Linked DNA regions of Homo sapiens: region 2 is linked to region 1. Evidence: promoter capture Hi-C in 16 types of primary human blood cells and fetal thymus (Javierre and others, 2016). All regions are on one chromosome and are shown on one strand. Each heading gives the region's core, a stretch centred on a gene start or on the middle of the fragment in contact. The rest is flanking DNA. Distances are from core to core; before and after follow the strand shown. Region 1 holds the start of SETD5 (SET domain containing 5). Region 2 overlaps ATG7 (autophagy related 7).

The links. Contacts are between HindIII fragments. The CHiCAGO score rates a contact against its expected background, and 5 or more counts as called.
Region 2: a contact is called between a fragment that was not itself captured here and the fragment with the promoter of SETD5 in region 1, in 1 of 17 cell types (monocytes). The highest score is 7.2, in monocytes.

The regions. Positions count from the first base shown.
Region 1 is chr3:9,396,089-9,400,173 of GRCh38, forward strand. SETD5 (SET domain containing 5) reads left to right here and starts at 1,527. Exons shown (of 23, transcript NM_001080517.3): 1 at 1,527-1,889. It overlaps THUMPD3-AS1 (THUMPD3 antisense RNA 1), which reads right to left and starts at 535. Exons shown (of 4, transcript NR_132781.1): 1 at 472-535. RefSeq lists a silencer at 425-1,734 and an enhancer at 2,345-2,394. The HindIII fragment of the contact is 6,018 bases long and covers 1-3,575 here.
Region 2 is chr3:11,272,527-11,276,611 of GRCh38, forward strand. All of the region lies in intron 1 of ATG7 (autophagy related 7), which reads left to right. Among named protein-coding and RNA genes, the nearest start is that of ATG7, 2.2 kb to the left of the region's middle. RefSeq lists enhancers at 1-66, 67-656. The HindIII fragment of the contact is 1,403 bases long and covers 803-2,205 here.

The DNA of each region.
Region 1 (4,085 bases), core at 277-2,776:
TGACTAAGCTCCATTTCCCTACCCCACCCTTATTACAATAACCTCGACACCAACTCTAGTCCGTGGGAAGATAAACTAATCGGAGTCGCCCCTCAAATCTTACAGCTGCTCACTCCCCTGCAGGGCAACGCCCAGGGACCAAGTTAGCCCCTTAAGCCTAGGCAAAAGAATCCCGCCCATAATCGAGAAGCGACTCGACATGGAGGCGATGACGAGATCACGCGAGGAGGAAAGGAGGGAGGGCTTCTTCCAGGCCCAGGGCGGTCCTTACAAGACGGGAGGCAGCAGAGAACTCCCATAAAGGTATTGCGGCACTCCCCTCCCCCTGCCCAGAAGGGTGCGGCCTTCTCTCCACCTCCTCCACCGCAGCTCCCTCAGGATTGCAGCTCGCGCCGGTTTTTGGAGAACAAGCGCCTCCCACCCACAAACCAGCCGGACCGACCCCCGCTCCTCCCCCACCCCCACGAGTGCCTGTAGCAGGTCGGGCTTGTCTCGCCCTTCAGGCGGTGGGAACCCGGGGCGGAGCCGCGGCCGCCGCCATCCAGAAGTCTCGGCCGGCAGCCCGCCCCCGCCTCCAGCGCGCGCTTCCTGCCACGTTGCGCAGGGGCGCGGGGCCAGACACTGCGGCGCTCGGCCTCGGGGAGGACCGTACCAACGCCCGCCTCCCCGCCACCCCCGCGCCCCGCGCAGTGGTTTCGCTCATGTGAGACTCGAGCCAGTAGCAAGGGCCCGGTCCCACAGCTTCGACAGCCAATCAGGTGTCGAAGACAAGCAGGCGGCGGGTAAACCGACTCCCCCGAAGGAAGGGGAGGGTGGGAGGACGCCCGCGCCAGAGCCGATTTCACTGACCCTCCCCTCCCGCCGCAGGAGGCCGGCCGCGCCCGCACACCCAGCATCTCTACACCCCACCTACCTACCCGCCCCACCCAGGGGGCAACGCGAGAGTCGCTAAGCGGCTGCGTACTCCCGACGGCGTAACTGACAGGAGCTTTACTCCAACCAGAATACGCCATTTGTGTTTTCACACACGGCGGGAGGAGAAACGGCCAATCGGCGACAAGAGGCTAGCCGGAAGCGCTCCTCCCTCTGCGAGAGCAATGGCTCCGTCCGGTTTCGAGCATTTTCCGCTCCCTTCTCCCTCCCCCTCCGGTTGCCGCAGGGCGGGCCTCCCTCCCGCCTGCATCCAGCCACCCCTTTCCCTCCCAACGTAACAAACATTATGTTCCCGACTTCCCACGGGAAAGGCAACCCCCGCAAGCCACCAGACGGCCCCCCTAGCCACCCATCCCCCCAGTGTACCGCACCTCCCCTCCCACCAGAGTTCCGCTCCCCTACCTAGCCGAGGCTCTCTGAGGAGCCGGAGCGCCGAAGCACAGCCTCTTCTCTAGGCGGCCCCGGCGGCTTCCGCTGATTGGCGGCGAGTGGGCCAATGGGTGCGGGGCGGTGGGCGGAGAGGCCAATGGCGCGGCGGGAGGGGGCGTGTCCCGGGTGCCCCTGGCGCCGGCGCTGGGAATCCCCGTGCGGTCAGTGGCGTTTCCGCTCGGGCAGCGGGCTGAGTGAGCTGCCGCCGCCGCCGCCGCCGCCGCCGCCGCCGCCGCTGCCGGGGGAGGGGCGGCCGCCGCCCGCCTGCGCTCAGAGACTCACGCAGCCCCAGTCCCGCCAGTCCGCCAACACAGTAGTGCCGGCCCCCCTCTTTCCCTGGCCCTGCCCCCCCTCCCCGCCTTTGGCTCGCTCCGCCTTTCTGCCCCCCACCCCCACCTCACGGGTACGGGCCATTCCCGGCCAGGAAACGCCGTGGCGCCGCGTTGGGCCTAACTCGAGTCCTGCCGCCTCCCGGGAGTGCCGTGCGCCGCAGCCCGGGCCCAGGCCCCGGCAGCGCCTGGGACAAGGTAAGGGTCCGACAGAAAAGAGACCGAACCTCACGATCGGGCCCCAGGGGAGGGAAGGGTCACCTCCTCCGTCTCCCCGCGCTCGCTCTCCTTGGGTCGTGGGCCTGGCCCTCCCCAAGCTCTTAGGAGGATGCTGCCACTTCTCACCCCCCTCGCCGCCTTGCACACACCGTTGCAACACCCCATTTTCCCAGGGAGAGAGATCCCCCTCTAATCTAGGCGACCCAACTCCCCCTTTCATGTTTTTCCTGGGTCAGGACGCTTCCCCTCCCCCAACGCCTCTTCACCCCCTTTCCTGGGAACTGCCTACTCCACGTTTACCTTTCCCTTGAGGAGAGGCCTCTTGCTGCCCTCCGCTCGAAATACACAGGCATACTTTTTTTCTCTCCCCGATCCCCCACTCCCTACCCCCGTTCTCGCGGCCTTGTGACAGACAACTCTGATCGCTCTGGGGGCCGCGATCTCCCCTCCGTAATCTTCCTGGACGCCTTCCCTCTCGTTTTCTGGCTTCCCACCTCAGATGGCTGCTTCCCAAAGGCATTACCTTCGCCACCCCCACCACACGTTCTCTGGCTCCCCGTGGCGTGTGCCACAGCGTGTCTGAGATAGCCTCGTTGAATGTGTAGGGTTCGAGCCTGGAGTTGAGCCAGATTGTGTCGTTTTACTTGCCTTGGGCGTGGAGAACGATCTTGTGAGAATATCTTCAAAGGCAGAAAAATATTCCCTTTATGAATTCTCTTTCCCTCTGCGTGTAAGTCGGGAATGTGAAGAGGAGTGTAGGAAAGAGCCCTGGTTCAAGTAGGTAAATCGCATGAGAGGGAAAGTTAAACTGTTGGGAAAGCCCCTTCTATGCTAATTGATTCTATAGAGTCCTTGCTTGTCTCACTTCTTGGGCGTCAGTGGTCTTTCTCTTGGATATGGATGCTGCAGTCAGCTCTGCTGGTCTGGGTCAGGGGTGCGTGTATGACCTGCATTTTCTGCTTTCTCATGTTACTTGTGCAATGTATTCACCGGTAACTCATTTCTTTCCCAGACCTCTGGGTTCCACTGGGCTTTGTCTATATTTAAGTTCATTTCTCCAGTTTCCTTCCTGCACATAGGTACTGAACGAATCCCCAAGTTCTGTGCTAATTACCTTCATCAGTTGACTAAACAAGTTTTTAGATGACATATTTGTGACCAAGGTCATATTTACATTTCTTTGTTGGACAGATGTTACATAGCTATACTTGTGATTGGGGAGGATCCAGCTGAGTGGAGTGTGCTGAGCTTTTTAGGAGAGTGTGTACTCCCTATTTGAAATTATTTTTTGGTTGTTAATTTTATATTATTAATGTTTTTAGGTCACAGAAAGTTCTAAGTGGTAATTTTAGATGTGTGGGATCTGAGCTAGGACTAAAGCAGAGAATACCCACGTAATCAGAGGTTTCTGGGCTCCATAGAGGACGTAGGGCTTTTTTTTTTCTATTGGATTTCTTCCAGTTTTCTCAGGATCATTAGTTCTCTTCTGTAGCCAAAAATTCTGGCCTGTTATGGGATTAGAGTCTTTAAGGTTTACTCAGACTGTCATTATGTGTAGAAAAATGAATTATGCCCTTTGGTAGGACATGACACAAGGCTCTGTTTCTAGCTGCAAATTTAAATTAGATTGTAGAGTGCTTGGGAAATTGGCTTTCAAAAGACCAAAGCTTAATCTTCACTCCTAAACTGCTGGCTTAATTAAAATGGATATTTAGAATTTGGTAAATGTTGATTTTTCTAATAAAAGGCCTTGGTTTAAAAGGGTGACCTTAGGATTGTTTCTTTCTTAAAAGCATAATTCCAGCCCTTCTGGCATGGAGCACTGGTCCAAAAAAAAAAAAAAAAAGTGTGTGTAAGGAGTGGGGGTGGGGTAAAGAGAAGGTTGTTCCTTTGGGTTGGATCACAGGGGTGAGTATACAAGGCAGCAGCAGCTGCTGGCTCTGGAGCTCTGGTTGCTACGTGAGAAGCTTGAGTAGTGCTGGCTGCTGTCTCCAGGGAAGGACAGCAGTGCAGCGTCCATTAATGCTGCTGGCTGCAGGGAGCAGCACTTAGGCGATGGCTGCTTCAGGACTAAGAAGAAACCTTGCTTTTCTGGGAATTTTCACTGCTGAGCTGGTTTGCTTTTTATTGGTGGGGAGATGGGAATTAGTAATTCATAATCTCCTACCCATTTAT
Region 2 (4,085 bases), core at 254-2,753, 1.9 Mb after region 1:
GTCACAGCAAGTCTCAGGATCCTCCTCTGCCAGTTTCTGGGTGGTCCTTCCTCCTCCAGGGACTCACTGATTCCGGCTGGCGCCCTTCGTCTGTAGCCGCGTCCCCTCAGACTGGTTCAGTCCGGGGTCTTCTGACTTGGAAGCTCGTGCTGATTTCCTAAGTCAGCCCCTCCTGTCCTCTTGGTAGGCAGTGCTCAGAATCTTCAGTGTTGGAACACGGGAGATGGGACATTTGGATTCCCAGCCTGGCTGTGTCTGGATTTGCTGTCTCTGGCACGTTCCTTCCCCATCTAAGCTGCTTTTCCATCTGCAAAATGGGAATGATAATCCGCCATTTGTTTAAGTGAGGAGGTTAAATAAGTTTACTTTCTGAGAAAGAAGATTCTCGATTCCTTGGTTACAGGGTTAGAAACTAATGCACAATAAGAATCAATCCGGTAAGGTAAATATAGGTGTTAGAACATTTGTCAGAAATAGAGTCAAACTTCTAATTTTATAAGTACAGTACTAACGTACATGATGTTGGAGAAGTACAAGCCAAACCGTGTGTGTGTGCACGTGCGTGCAGTTTCCTGATTTTTAAACACTGGCGACTGATGCCATTTTTTAAAAATTGGCAAGTAATTCTGGCGTTTAAAAACATTGGCAACTCAGTTTTTACAAAACCCTGTTCAACTGTAACCAGTCATATCTGTGGCTGTCAGTTTGGGACCTCTGGATCCCAGACTCCCTTTTTCATTGACTACTTAGATTTTTTTCTCTGACACCTCTGCCCACTGGCCAGATTTCTTCAGTGACAGAAAGCTTTCTACTTCTGGTTGCTCCTGTTTGGTCCTCCCCCAGTTCTGACTCTTAGGTTGAGCTGAAAGCAGCTACTCGGTAATCTTAGCTCACTGTTCCTCCTTCAGGCTCTTGGAATCACCCCTGCATTTAATTGCCCTATACATCATTGAAAGCTGCTAGTTTGTCTTCCTCTTCTCACCTTTTCTTCTCTAGGCTAAGCATATTTAATGTATTTGCTCATAGTAAACTTAACAGTGACAGCAAATTTTGTCATGTTTTGTTATATCCCCAGCATATAGAGCAATGCCTAGCATATTATATATGCTCAATAAATATTTGTTGGATGAATGAATAAAACAAATATTTGCCTGTTATGTGCCTGGCATTATTGTGGGCACTGGTGATCTATCAGTAAAATAAGAAGAAAAAGAACCCTGTTTCATGGCACCTTCTAATAATAGTGGTGGTGGTGGCGGTGGCGGCATTGTCAGTAAGGGTTGGTAGGTGTTTCCGATTCTGAAACGTACAGGGTCATGGGATGGACAGTAATTGGGGGGAAGCATAAAAGCTAGCTAGTCAGGGATGGCTTCCCTGAGGAAGTGACCTAACACTTGAATAAAGAAAAGTCCAGTCTTGGAATGGCTCATGTTGCTAAACTGCTTTCCCATCCCCCAACGCTGCTCCAGTCTTGTTAAGCTGCTTGCAGGTGTGTGTCACCTATAGCCCTTTGCTTCTGCTGCTTCGAACATCTCCCCTTCCTCTTCCATTTATCTTGGCCAACTCCTTCCTGCCCTCATGTGACATGATTTTGAAATCCTTTAAGAGCTGAGTACTGGACTTTCCATTACTCAACCACAGGTTCCGTTTTTCGTTCCCAGCCAGCATCTCATTATAGAGAATAAACATTTATTGAGCTTCAGCTGTGTGTCTGGCACTGCGCTGCAAGCTGGGAATACAAAAATGAGTAAGATACACATCCCTGTCCTCAAAGAGTTTACTTTTTTTTTAAGCCAAGGAGATAGCAACGGTATGGCATGAAGCTATTGCGGAGGTTTGGTAGAGGAGGACTTAGGGTACGCATAAGTCAGGCTGACTCATCAGAGAAGGTTTCAGTGAGGAGGTGCTGCTTTAGCCAAGACCTGAAGGACGAACGAGATCTGACAGGTGAAGAGTGGTTCGAAGTGAGATGAGCAAAGGGCTAGAGGTGAGAATGCATGGCCTGCTTGTGGTTCACTGGAGTGCCAGTGTGGAGGTGTAGGATGAGAGGTGACTGGAAAGGTAAGCACTAGCCACATCGTGAAGGGCCCTGTGGACAATAGCATGTTACCCGCACATAGACTTTGGGATCCAAGATAGCTGCGTACCAATATTCCCATTGCCACTGAACTAGTTTTGTGACCCTGGGCAAGTCACTTCTTTCTAAGCTTCAGTTTCCTCATCTCTAAGAAGGGGAAATAAAAACTGTACGAGGTGATATGTTACTCACTTGACACTGGTAGATGATAAATACTCAATAAACAGTAGTCATTAATATTGCCAGGCCCAGAAGTTTGGACTCTAAAATGTGGGGGCGGGGGTGGAGAGCAGGACACTGAAGATTTTAAAACAGATGCGACATCCTCTCATCTGTTTTAAATTACCCAGGCAGCAATGTGGTGATTACACTGGACAGAAAAAGACAAGCAGGGGACCAGTTGGGTATAGTTGCAGTGATCCAGGTGACAGGATGAAGATCTGGATGAAGGCAGTGACAGTGGAGATGGAGAGGAGTGGGAGGAGTTGAGAGATTAAGGAGGTGGAATTTGCTGGACTTGGTAACTGATAGGATGAAACAGAAGAAGGGGACAAGAATCAGGATCCTGATGACGGGAGGGCAGAAATGAATTTGCTGTGTGGAATTGAGCAGTAACAAAATTCTTTGACTAGTGTCTCTAATAGATTAACCCTGACCTCTGATTTTATTTGGAATTCAGTTTGCCTCTGTCGTCCACTTCTACCCATGGAAATGACGTTCGCTAATGTCTTCCTCTCCTCTTTTTTTTTTTTTCTTTTTTTTTGAGATGGAGTCTCACTCTGTCGCCCAGGCTGGAGTGCAGTGGCACGATCTCGGCTCACTGCAAGCTCTGCCTCCTGGGTTCACTCCATACTCCTGCCTCAGCCTCCCCAGGAACTGGGACTACAGGTGCCCACCACCATGCCCGGCTAATTTTTTTTTTTTTTTTTTTTTTTTAGTAGAGATGGGGTTTCACTGTGCTAGCCAGGATGGTCTCCATCTCCTGACCTCGTGATCCGCCTGCCTCAGCCTCTCAAAGTGCTGAGATTACAGGCGTGAGCCACCGCTTCCTCTCCCCTTTCTATCTCCTGATCTCCCCACCCTTCTCCAGTGCGATTAAGGCCTGATTGTATAATCAAGGGACAATAAATACTGGAGGTGCTGCTCTGTTAATTGGTAGTCAGTAGGTATTACCATGATCTTGGCAGACTGAGGAATAGCCTATTCACTCCATCTCAGACCGGCTTCAGAATGATCACTTTTGGGATTTCCTCACACCTTCATCCCAGTTACCATCCTTGAACTTGCTCTGGTTTGTCAGCCTCTCTTTGAGTGTGTGGTACAGAAAGGAAATCCTCTTTCCTTGAGGACTCTAACCATGCAGAGCAAGACTGCACTTTTCTTGTGGTAACCTAAAGCCCTGCCAGCTCCATTATAGACACATTGTGCTTTTGACACTATTACACTAGTGTGCCACCAAATAGGCCCTCAGCGTGGCTCAGCCCTCCCCATATCCTCAGGCAGCTCTCTTGTCCATTTCCCTTTATGTCTTCCTCATATTCATTCCTCTCCTCAACCTCCTACCTTGACTTTTGCTCCACTAAGTTGCAGCCATTAATTAAGGCATCGCAGCTTCCTCTTCTATCCTTTACCAACTGATCTTTAGCTGACCCTATCCTTTTGCCTTTTATTCTAATTCTGTGAAAGAAATGGTGTTTTAAGACTAAGTCCTCTATTTGTGCTTGAGATCCCATCGCCTCCTTTGCCTCAAGGACTGGGTTCCATCATTTGTTCATTTTCTTTTCTGTTTCATCAACCCTTCTCATTTAAATATTCTCTGTTTACTCTCATTTTGGAAAAAACAAAAACCCTCCAATTAACCTATGCTGCACCCTGTCACACCTCTTTTACCCAGCCACCTTTCTTGGAAGAGTTATCTAGAGTTGCTTCCTGTACTTCCCTAAGTCATTGCTAAAATCCTGCTCTCGTCCCACCACTCCCCAAAGTCATCAGACCTCGACATTGCCAG